Linked DNA regions of Homo sapiens: region 1 is linked to region 2. Evidence: promoter capture Hi-C in human tissues and cell types (Jung and others, 2019). All regions are on one chromosome and are shown on one strand. The core of a region is centred on a gene start or on the middle of the fragment in contact, and the rest is flanking DNA. Distances in the headings are between cores, read along the strand shown. Region 1 overlaps LRRC52-AS1 (LRRC52 antisense RNA 1). Region 2 holds the start of RXRG (retinoid X receptor gamma).

Region 1 (5,231 bases), core at 1,093-3,592, 37 kb before region 2:
AGGTCCAGTAAAGATAGAATTAGGACTTAATACATATTTTTCCTCTCTATGTCACAGGACTTATAAACCCCAGTGACTATATTGCTGGGAGGACTGAGCTGACTTTCGAAAGTGAGAGTGGCATGCAGTCCTTAACATCTCTGGTCTTTAACAACTCCCATGGATACCCCTGGCCTGGTGTGAGAGAGAACCACAGACCTGGAACCAGACCTAGGCTTCTACCTTGGGTCCTGCATGCCCTACCTCAATGATCTTGGTGACATGGCTTGGCTCTTTGTCCCCACACAAATCTCATGTTGAATTGTGAACCCCAGTGTTGGAGATGGGGCCTGGTGGGAGGTGATTGGATCATGGGGGTGGTTTCTAATGGTTTAGCACAATCCCGCTAGTGCTGTCTTGTGATAGAGTTCTTTTTTTTTTGAGATAGAGTCTCGCTCTGTTGCCAGGCTGGAGTGCAGTGGTGTGATCTCAGCTCACTGCAACCTCTGTCTCCCAGGTTCAAGCAGTTCTCCTGCCTCAGCCTCCTGAGTAGCTGGGACTACAGGTGCGTGCCACCATACCCAGATAATTTTTTTTGTATTTTTAGTAGAAATGGGATTTCAGCATGTTGGCCAGAATGGTCTCGATCTCTTGAGTTTGTGATCCACCCACCTCGGCCTCCCAAAGTGCTGGGATTGAGTTCTCACAAGATCTGGTTGTTTGAAAGTGTGTAGCACCTCCCCTTTTTCTCTCTTTCCTGCTCTGTCATGGTAAGACGTGCTTGCTTCTCATTCGCTTACCACCATGATTAAGTTTTCTGAGGCCTCCCAGCCACACTTCCTGTACAGCCTACAGAACAGTGAATCAATTAAACCTCTTTTCTTTATAAATTACCCAATCTCAAATAGTTCTTTATAGCACTGTGAGAATGGACTAATACACTTGGGGAAACTACTTAACCTCTTTTGAGCCTCAGGTTTGCATTAACAATTAAATGAGGTAATATGTGAGAAAGCAGCCTAATATAGTGTCTGGCAGGTGGGAAAACTCAAATGTTAGTATCTTGTAGTAATGGTCTGAGGTCAGGTTGTGATGTAGGAATGAAACAGCAGTGATTTAGCTGGCATGTGTTGAGGCCCTCCCGGGACACCACATTCAAATTGTATGGGAGCTCTTTCCCCAGTGTTTTGTCTGCTAGGGTTGCCATGATAAAGTTTCACAATGGGCAGCTTAAACATGAGAAATCAATTTTCTCACAGTTCTGGAGGCTGGGAGTCCAAGCTCAAGGTACCAGCAAGGTTGATTTCCTCTGTGGCATCTCTGCTTGGCTTACAGATGGCAGTCCTCTTGCTGCCTCTGCATGGGGTCCTCTCTCTGTGCACTCTTGTTCCTCGTGCCTCTTTTTGTGTCCTCATCTCTTCTTTTTATAAGGACACCAGTCACATTGGATTAGGGCCCACCCCAACAGCCTCATTTGAGCTTCATCACCTCTTTAAAGGCCCTATCTCTATAGTCACATTCCGAGGTACTGGGGTTTAAGATTCAATATAGGAATTTAGGCAGGGGGATACAAATCAGTCTATAAGAAGACCCAGGAACTCACTGAGACTACACGAGGAGCTTAAATCACAGGGCTGTGTGGTTTTGCAGTGCAGCCCCGTTTGTAATGTATGAAATTCTATGCTCAAAGCTAGTCTTCTTCCTTCCCCCCAACTTCCTCTTCTTTTCCTGGTAGGAAGACTCAAGCGAACATCTCCATTTTGACAAGTATATATTTCTTCTTTCTTTGCAGGGATTCTTCACCCATGGTTGCTTAGGTTTATAAGCAAGGAAGCTGAATGAAGTCCCTTTCCTCTCTGGATGAGCCCCTGGGTTTCTGGAAGAGTCTTAAAATCACCCCTAAATGGCTTCCAAGCACTGAAGCCCGAGATGTTAGCTGGCCTGTGTGAGGCCTTGAGACAGAATGCCACAGCCACACCCCAAGGATGCTGAAGGGGATTTCCCTCCTCTGTGGTTTTTCTCCTTTCTTCCCGCAGCACTCCTCCTACGTGGTGAGTCATCCAGAACTCCAAACACACAGCCAGCTGTTTGGAACACAAGAAATAACCATAGCCAGAGGCATCTTGGGCCCAAACTCTTCTCTCTTTTATTGCTCATTTCCCAAGTCACTTCCTTTCCCCTCCCCTACTTTCCCTCCCCGTTCTTCTTAGGACTTAACACAGGTGTCTGGAGACATTGGGTCTTTGTCAGTCAATGTCAGACCTCTTCTAACATTGATATTTATCAAAGTAACGGTTACATCATAGCCCTCTTTCATATACTCGGAGTATTGTTCCTTCCTTCCCTACCTTCCTTCCTTCCCTTCCTTCCTTCCTTCCTTCTTTCTTTCTTTCTCTCTCTCTTTCTTTTCTTTCTTTTTTTCTTTTCTTTTCTTTCTCTCTCTTTCTTTCTTTCTTTCCTTTCTTTCCCTTCCTTCCTTGCTTCCTTCTTTCCTTCTTTCCTTCCTTCCTCCCTCCCTCCCTCCCCTGTCTCCCCTCCCTCCCTTCTTCCCTTCCTTCCTTCCTTCCTCCCTCCCTCCCTCCTGTCTCTCTTTCTCTCCTTCTCTTCTTTCTCTCTCTCTTTCTCTTTCTTTCTTTCTCTCTCTTTCCTTTCCTTCTTTCCTTCCTTCCTTCCTTCCTTCCTTCCTTCCTTCCTTCCTTCCTCTCTCTCTTTCTTTCTTTCTTTCTTTCTTTTTTCTTTCTTTCTCCTCACTCTGTCACCCAGGCTGGAGTGCAGCTGGAGTGCAGCTGGAGGGATCCCAGCTCACTGCAACCTCTGCCTTCCCAGTTCAAGCGATTCTCCTGCCTCAGGCTCCAGAGTAGCTGGGATTACAGGATTGTGCCACCACACCTGGCTAACTTTTTGTATTTTTTAGTAGAAACAGGTTTTCGCCATGTTGCCCAGGCTGGTCTCAAACTCCTGGGCTCAGGCAATCCACCGGCCATGGCCTCCCAAAGTGCTGGAATTACAGGTGTGAGCCACTGCGCCGGCCTGCGTTTGTTTCTTAAGGTGTGATCACTTTCCTTGTTGAATCTAGAGTATTAGCTAATATCTAGAATGTTAGCTTCTCATGAACAGGGATCATACTGTATCCTCCATGGCCAATGCTTTACACATAGTCATGCTCAAACACTTTTTGAAGAAAGCAATGAAACTTTTAAGAAAAATATTATTCTCTGAGAGGTATAGGCTTGCAGTTAGCTTTACAGAAACTTGAGGAGTCCGCTGAGTTATGTAAACCTGGAGTCACAGTGTGCCACTAGTACAGGTGTTGCCAGTTACTCTGGTGATACCATTTCAGACACTAAGCTTAGCCACAGGTGTGGTTTATTTTAAAATATACATATAACTTCTTTTGATACTAAAATGTAAAGCAGATAATCACATAAATTCATTTTTATAGACATAAATGCTTAGGTAAGATATACCACCACATTAACTAGATATGATTTTATCATGTTTATTTGTTGTGGCACATGTGCACCATGGAATACTATGCAGCCATAAAAAGGATGAGTGCACATCCTTTGCAGGGACATAGATGAAGCTGGAAACCATCACTCTCAGCAAACTAACACAGGAACAGAAAACCAAACATTGCATGTTCTCACTCATAAGTGGGAGTTGAACAATGAGGACACATGGACACAGGGAGGGGAAAAACACACACTGGGGCCTGTTGAGGGGTGAAGGGCTAGGGGAGGGACAGTATTAGGAGAAATACCTAATGTAGATGACGAGTTGATGGGTGCAGCAAACCACCATGGCACGTGTATACCTATGTAACAAACCTGCACGTTCTGCATATGTATCCCAGAACTTAGTATAATTAAAAAAAAATAAAATAAAATAAATTGTGACAAAAATAGATTGGTATATAATATAGTTACCTATTGACTCTCACTTTCATTTCTACAGAAAGAATAGGTTAATTCTGATATGTAATAAAAATCATCCATATGAACCTTAAAATATATATAAATATATTATATATTTAATATATAAAAATATATATTTATATATATATATTTTTTTCCTTCTTGTGGCTTCAAAGTTAGAAATACCCTCTTAGATACTTGCTCTGATATTAAAATCCCTGAAGTTTCACTGAAGTTAATGCCTTCAAGCTTTAAAGAGCAAGTTTAAGAACTTCAAGCTCTTAAACAGGTGGGGGCAGTGGGCTCTGACCCCATCCTAACCTTGCTGGCTCTCTTTCTCTCCTCTCTCTGCCATCAGAGGAAGAGGAAGGCAATGAGGAGATCAAATGGATCTCAGTTTTTCATCTCTGACCTTTCCTGCACTCCTTTCTGCTTAGCAGAAATAAAGATGGGGTACACATGTGAAACTTGTACTTATTCATTCAACAAATATTTAATATGAACCTACTGTGTGCCAGACATTTTGCCAGGTTCAGGCACTACAGAGATGAGAAAGTCACAATCCTAGCCTGCAAGGAGCTCATAGTCTACTGGGGAGTAGAAATGCAACTGAATCATTCTTATAGACTGAGATATTGGAAATATGTATAAAGGACTATGAGAGTACTGAGAAGGGGTTTGCCTCTTAGTCCAGGGTTTCTGTAGATCAGAGGTTCTCCAAATGAGGTCTCCAGACCAGCAGCATCACCTGGGAACATGTTAGAAATGCAAATTACTTGGCTCCAGCCTAGACCTATTGAATGCGAAGCTCTGAGGTTGGGCCCAGCAGTCCTCATTTTAACCAGCCCTCTGGGGATTCTGATGTTCACTCAAGTTTAAGAAACTCTGCCCAACCCTAAAGGATTTTTACAGTTGAAATCAAGTTAAAATGAACACTAGTAGAAGATTAAGGAGAATAAAGGCAAACAGAAATGGATAGACTGATAACAAGTTACAAATAAACAAGATGGGAAAGCTAGACTCAATCTTGTGCTGCTGAGTCAGAGTCAGAGGTATAAACTCATACTGATTTTAGTATATGTAGGCAGATAGATATAGGACATATAGATATGTGTATATGGGCTGGGCACGGTGGCTTATGCCTGTAATCCCAGGACTTTGGGAGGCCGAGGCAGGTGGATCATGAGGTCAGGAGATCGAGACCATCCTGGCCAACATGGTGAAACCTCATCTCTACTAAAAATACAAAAATTAGCCGGGTGTGGTGGCAGGTGCCTGTAGTCCCAGCTACTTGGGAGGCTGAGGCAGGAGAATCGCTTGAACCCGGGAGGTGGA
Region 2 (4,862 bases), core at 2,088-4,587:
CCCTGAGAGCTAACTGAGCAAGAACTCACGCATCACCAAAAGGATGGCACTAAGACATTCATGAGGGATCCACCCCATGATCCAATACCTCCCACTAGGCTCCACCTCCACCATTAGGGATCACATTTCAACATGAGATTTGGAGAGGAAAAACATCCAAACTATATCAAACCGGAAGTTGGAATGAACATACCGTACCCCTACAGTGGGCAAAACAGCCAGATCAGAAGGAACTCTCAGAGAAAGGGAGGAAAGAAAATCAGGAAAATATTAATTCTTTGCATTTGTTTTACAAAGCCATTGTATAGAACTTCGCAGTGTAAAAATGAGCACGTGCCCAACTCTCAACACATCTGATCCACAAAATCAAAACTAAATCCAGAAACCTTAGTGAGGCTGGCAGCATGGATGTTTTTCCCAGAGAGTGTGTATCCCAAGCCTTGTGATTACTGCCCCAAAGCACTTTCCTCTACATAGAGCTCACATGATAGGCCGAGACACCCCACAAATGGTGAGCCTTTTCCATGCCAGGTTAGGATTTGGTTTTTCTTCTGTGAGGAAAAGAAATAGACAATGTACTGAACTTAGAAAAAGGTGAAGAAAGAGTCTATCTGTTGGTGGCTTAACCAACAGATCATCTTGACAATGACCTTGGACAAGTCTGTAGACTGTGATTTTTAAAGAATGGTTTTTGAGTACTTGAGTACTTGGAAAAACCCTTGAAACATGGGTTCACACACACACAAAAAAACAGTTTAAGTAACTCATTTCCTTCTCTGACATGCGTACAATAGAAAACTGTAGATTGTAAGACACTTGCTTCAGATACCACTATGGAGAAAATGGACAATTATGGAATGGGTGATGCATTAGTCTGCGTTCAGTTTTAAAGCTGAAGATGATATTGGAACCCATGTAGCTCTGCTCCATCATTTTACAAATGAGAAAAAGGAGAGGAGCCATAAAGTGACTTGCTTAAGGTTACATCCTCTTCCTCTTTGACCTCCTCCTCCTCCCCATCATTTGCCTCAAATTAGATTACATGTATCGAGCATTTAGTATTTATCTGGCGTATTTCAAGTGCTTAACATGTATTGACTCATTTAATCCTCATGGTAACCCTATAAGGTAACTGAGGCTCAGGGAGATTTACTCATTTGCCAGTATCATGAGGCTGTAAGCAGCGGAACAGGGATTTGTACCCAGCAATGTTGGCTTGTGAGTTGGTGAGTTGGTGCTTTTACTATACATATAGCCTTTCAAGGCCATATAACTAGTGAGTAGCAGAGCAAAGTGTCTAAGGCACTAATGAATGGACTTTTTAGTGATATAAGATGTTGTCTTTGCTATGTCTATGTCAACATTTTTATCAATGAGTCGAATAAGATATGAAAAAGCAGTTCATCAGATTTTCAGAAGTCATGAAATAAGGGTATGAATAAGAAATATTTTGGACAACAGAAGCAGGATCCTAAAAGATTTGGGATGATGAATGAAGCCAAAAAGTTTTAACTTCAGAGGAATATAGGAAGCATTTCATGTAGGTCCCAAAACCAATTGCCCAAGGATGGGATGAAGAATATGCATAAGAGAACACAACTTAGGGGAGGTAGGGGTGGGGAGATTTTTATCGAGTTAGTTCTACATGAATTAACATGCAGAGCTGCCCACCTAATGCAAGTGAGCAAATGGTCCTCCTGTATTCTATATTACTTATGTCCACTGGACTCTCATCCCAGCAACAGTCAAGGCAGCTCTGGGCTCTCCAAAGCTCTTTACAGTGAAGGCCTGGATATTTCTTCCTCCTTTGTGACATGCTTTTGCTTTGATTCCCCATTTTGGCCTCCTCCTTTGTCATCATGACTTTGTTCCTGACTCTGGTCTTTTATTCTACGTTTTTGTTTTGGCTTCTCCTAGCATTTGAATCTTGATTTTTTACTCTGGGACCCTGATTTGACTTACCTCTCTGGCTCTCTATGTCTTATGCTGCATCAGGAGAAAATCTCTTATCTTTTTTCCAGCCCAACAGAGCTCAGCCCATGAAACGGACCTTCAATGGGTATGTTGACAGCACCCCATCACCGTGCCAACACATATACCATGAGGAAAAGGTTTGGACCATATCTGGAGTATTGCATCCAAGTCTGGCCAACCCCCTTCCTCACTGTGAGGGTATCTATGTAAACTGAAGTACATTATTAGAAAAAGGATAGGTTGGGAATAGACATGAACCCTTGGTGATACATAGAATTACTGAAAGAGCCAGAGATGCCTAGGGAAAGGGGGATTATGGGCACAGCAGATCAATCTCAGGATTTGCAGAGGATCCCACTGTGAAAGACTTTTTTGTCTTTCAGGCTTCTCTTGTGTGGCCCCTGGGAGCAGTCTAGCACCTGTGGGCAGAAGCTGTAGGGAAAAGGAGCAGATTTTATCTCTATAAGAAACTTTCTTGTGGTGAAAACTATCTAGAAATGGAATGAGAAAGTGGTGAGCTCCCCATTATTGGAGGTGTTCAAGTATAGGCTGAGCGGTGACTTGTCACGAAAACTGTATGACAGACCCAAACATCAACGGGGTGCTTAGATTCTTTGATCTCGGGTCAGTTCCACACAAGACAGGCTCTGTGTTAGTGAGGACCCAGTGGTGTTTTTGAACAGGCGGCAGGATAACAATGGTATATAAAATAAATGCAGAGAAAGACCTCCACATCAAGCCAACCCCTCCTCCCTACCTGTAAGTTTTCCACCTGAGTGAGCTCTGGCTCCAGCTGCACTTGTCAAACTCCCATTGTTAGAGCACAGATAAATGCTTCCGGCCACCCAAGCAGGAGAGGCCCACCTCAACTTAAGGGCTACTCTATTTTAGTTTTCCGTAGCTGGAGATTGAGTATCACGCTTTTCTAATCTTGTGCTTCTGAAAGGGCCCTGTTCTCTCTTGAACCCCACCCCCTCCTCCTTTCACAGATCAAATACCAAGTACATTGGACAGATAGAAGTTCGAATGAGAAAATGCATTTTAATAAAATCCCATTGATTTTTGTGGATGTAAGTCAAGGAACAGGCACCTAAAGAGTCTTCCATCCCCTGCCGTCTCCCGCCTCTCTCCTGACCTACACCGGGCGGTCATACATCGATTGGCTTCCTAGATAATAGATCGTGCCACCCGGTAGGGACCTCTGGGGACGCGCCGGGAGCTGGAAGAGTCGCACGCAGCAGCCCAACCCTGAGTTAATCAAACTAGCAACAGGATCTCAAGCAGCAGCGACGGCGGTGGCAAGAGTAGCGGTGACGGCGGCGGCGGCGGCGGCGGCAGCATTATGCGTGATTACTGACAGGCACCAGCTGCTGCCGCCACAGCCGTCTCAAACGCACTATGTGGACTCTCCGATCTAGAGGCAGATTCCTGACTAATCCCAGAGGGCTGGCCCAGCCTGTGCTCCCCGGGCTGCTAGGAAGCGATGACCACTCTTGTTAGCCCAAGTTGAAGAAAGCCGGGCTGTGCCTGGGAGCCGAGAGAGGCGGTAATATTTAGAAGCTGCACAGGAGAGGAACATGAACTGACGAGTAAACATGTATGGAAATTATTCTCACTTCATGAAGTTTCCCGCAGGCTATGGAGGTAAGTATCTCCCTTGGGCTTCACTGCGTGGACCTGTATGAGAGACTGAGAAGAAATTGGGAAATACGAATGACTGGATTAGTATTGAATTAAAAGGAGAACATATATGTTTATATGCATATATAGTGTGTATATAGCGTTTCAGCGTGTGTGTGCACGCGTGCATGAGAGAGGAGAGGAGGAAAGAATGGTCTGTAGGTGAGGATACGTTTGCATATCAGAATGAGGATACGGGGATATTCTAAGGAGAGAGTAAACCAACATGCTTGAGAATGTGTCTGAGACAAAGATAGAATAAGAGCATTGTTATAACCCAGTGTGTTTGTGCGGGTGTGAAAAGTGGAAGAGTTAACGGGGAATTACTATGATGTTCCTATTAGCCAACTTGTAATGAGAAAAAATGTGATTAAAAAGGTTTTGCCTATCTTGAGGGTTCCTGGGATACTTTGTAACAAGGGCATGATTGTTTTACTCAAAAGCAGATTTCCCTTTAATTGGATTTTTAAAAAGAAAACATAGTGCTTTAATTTGCTACTGTGTTTTCCTTCCCCTGTTTTCTTTCCTTTGATTTGCTAATAGCCTCTTCTCTCCTCCCCTGCTGCTGCCCCCAATTCTACTGCAAGAGTTGCTGCAATCACTTCCACTCTGGGGGTAGAGATCTGGGGATGGGGGGTTGGGGCTCTTAGAGAATTGGCAAACTGAAGATTCAAGTCACCGTGCCAGGCAGGGCAGCCCAGTCACACTTCACAGAAGCTTCCGGAGACTAGGTCCTCAGGCTGCCTTAACGCCCAAGCACATCCGTCCCAAGGATCCCTTGATTTAGTGACAGAAACAGTACAGCCGCCCAGCTCTGAGTAAATGGAAGCAACAGCTGACCAACTGGCCTGTCGCTTGTCAGTTGGAGGCATGCAGCTTATGTTGCTGGGAGCCAAAGAAAGATTCTGGCAGGCAAGACAGCAGAAATTCTTATAAGGTTTTGAAAATTGAAAAGTCCCTGCTCTCCAGACTTCCTCCGTGGACCAATTCATCTGAAGGCTTGGGACTAAAGCTTGCCTAACTTGGCTGGGCAGAACCCCCTGGGAGGCATGGTGACACACTGCAAGGTAGAAGTGATCTCTGTCACCAGGAGGTGTTAGACCTGGGAGTTTGCACATTCATTCAGGGTAGTTTTTATGAGGCAGGCATGGTGTTGGGCACTGGGAATACAAATATGAATGAGACACAGTCTCTGCCCTTTGGGACTG

The links. Contacts are between HindIII fragments. The study calls those that stand out against the background at their distance.
Region 1: a contact is called between a fragment that was not itself captured here and the fragment with the promoter of RXRG in region 2, in 1 of the 25 tissues and cell types used here (liver).

The regions. Positions count from the first base shown.
Region 1 is chr1:165,479,148-165,484,378 of GRCh38, reverse strand. LRRC52-AS1 (LRRC52 antisense RNA 1) reads left to right here. Exons shown (of 7, transcript NR_026744.2): 6 at 1,772-2,030. Among named protein-coding and RNA genes, the nearest start is that of RXRG, 37 kb to the right of the region's middle. The HindIII fragment of the contact is 7,158 bases long and covers 1-5,231 here.
Region 2 is chr1:165,443,601-165,448,462 of GRCh38, reverse strand. RXRG (retinoid X receptor gamma) reads left to right here and starts at 3,337. Exons shown (of 10, transcript NM_006917.5): 1 at 3,337-3,618. The coding sequence starts at 3,570. The HindIII fragment of the contact is 18,328 bases long and covers 1-4,862 here.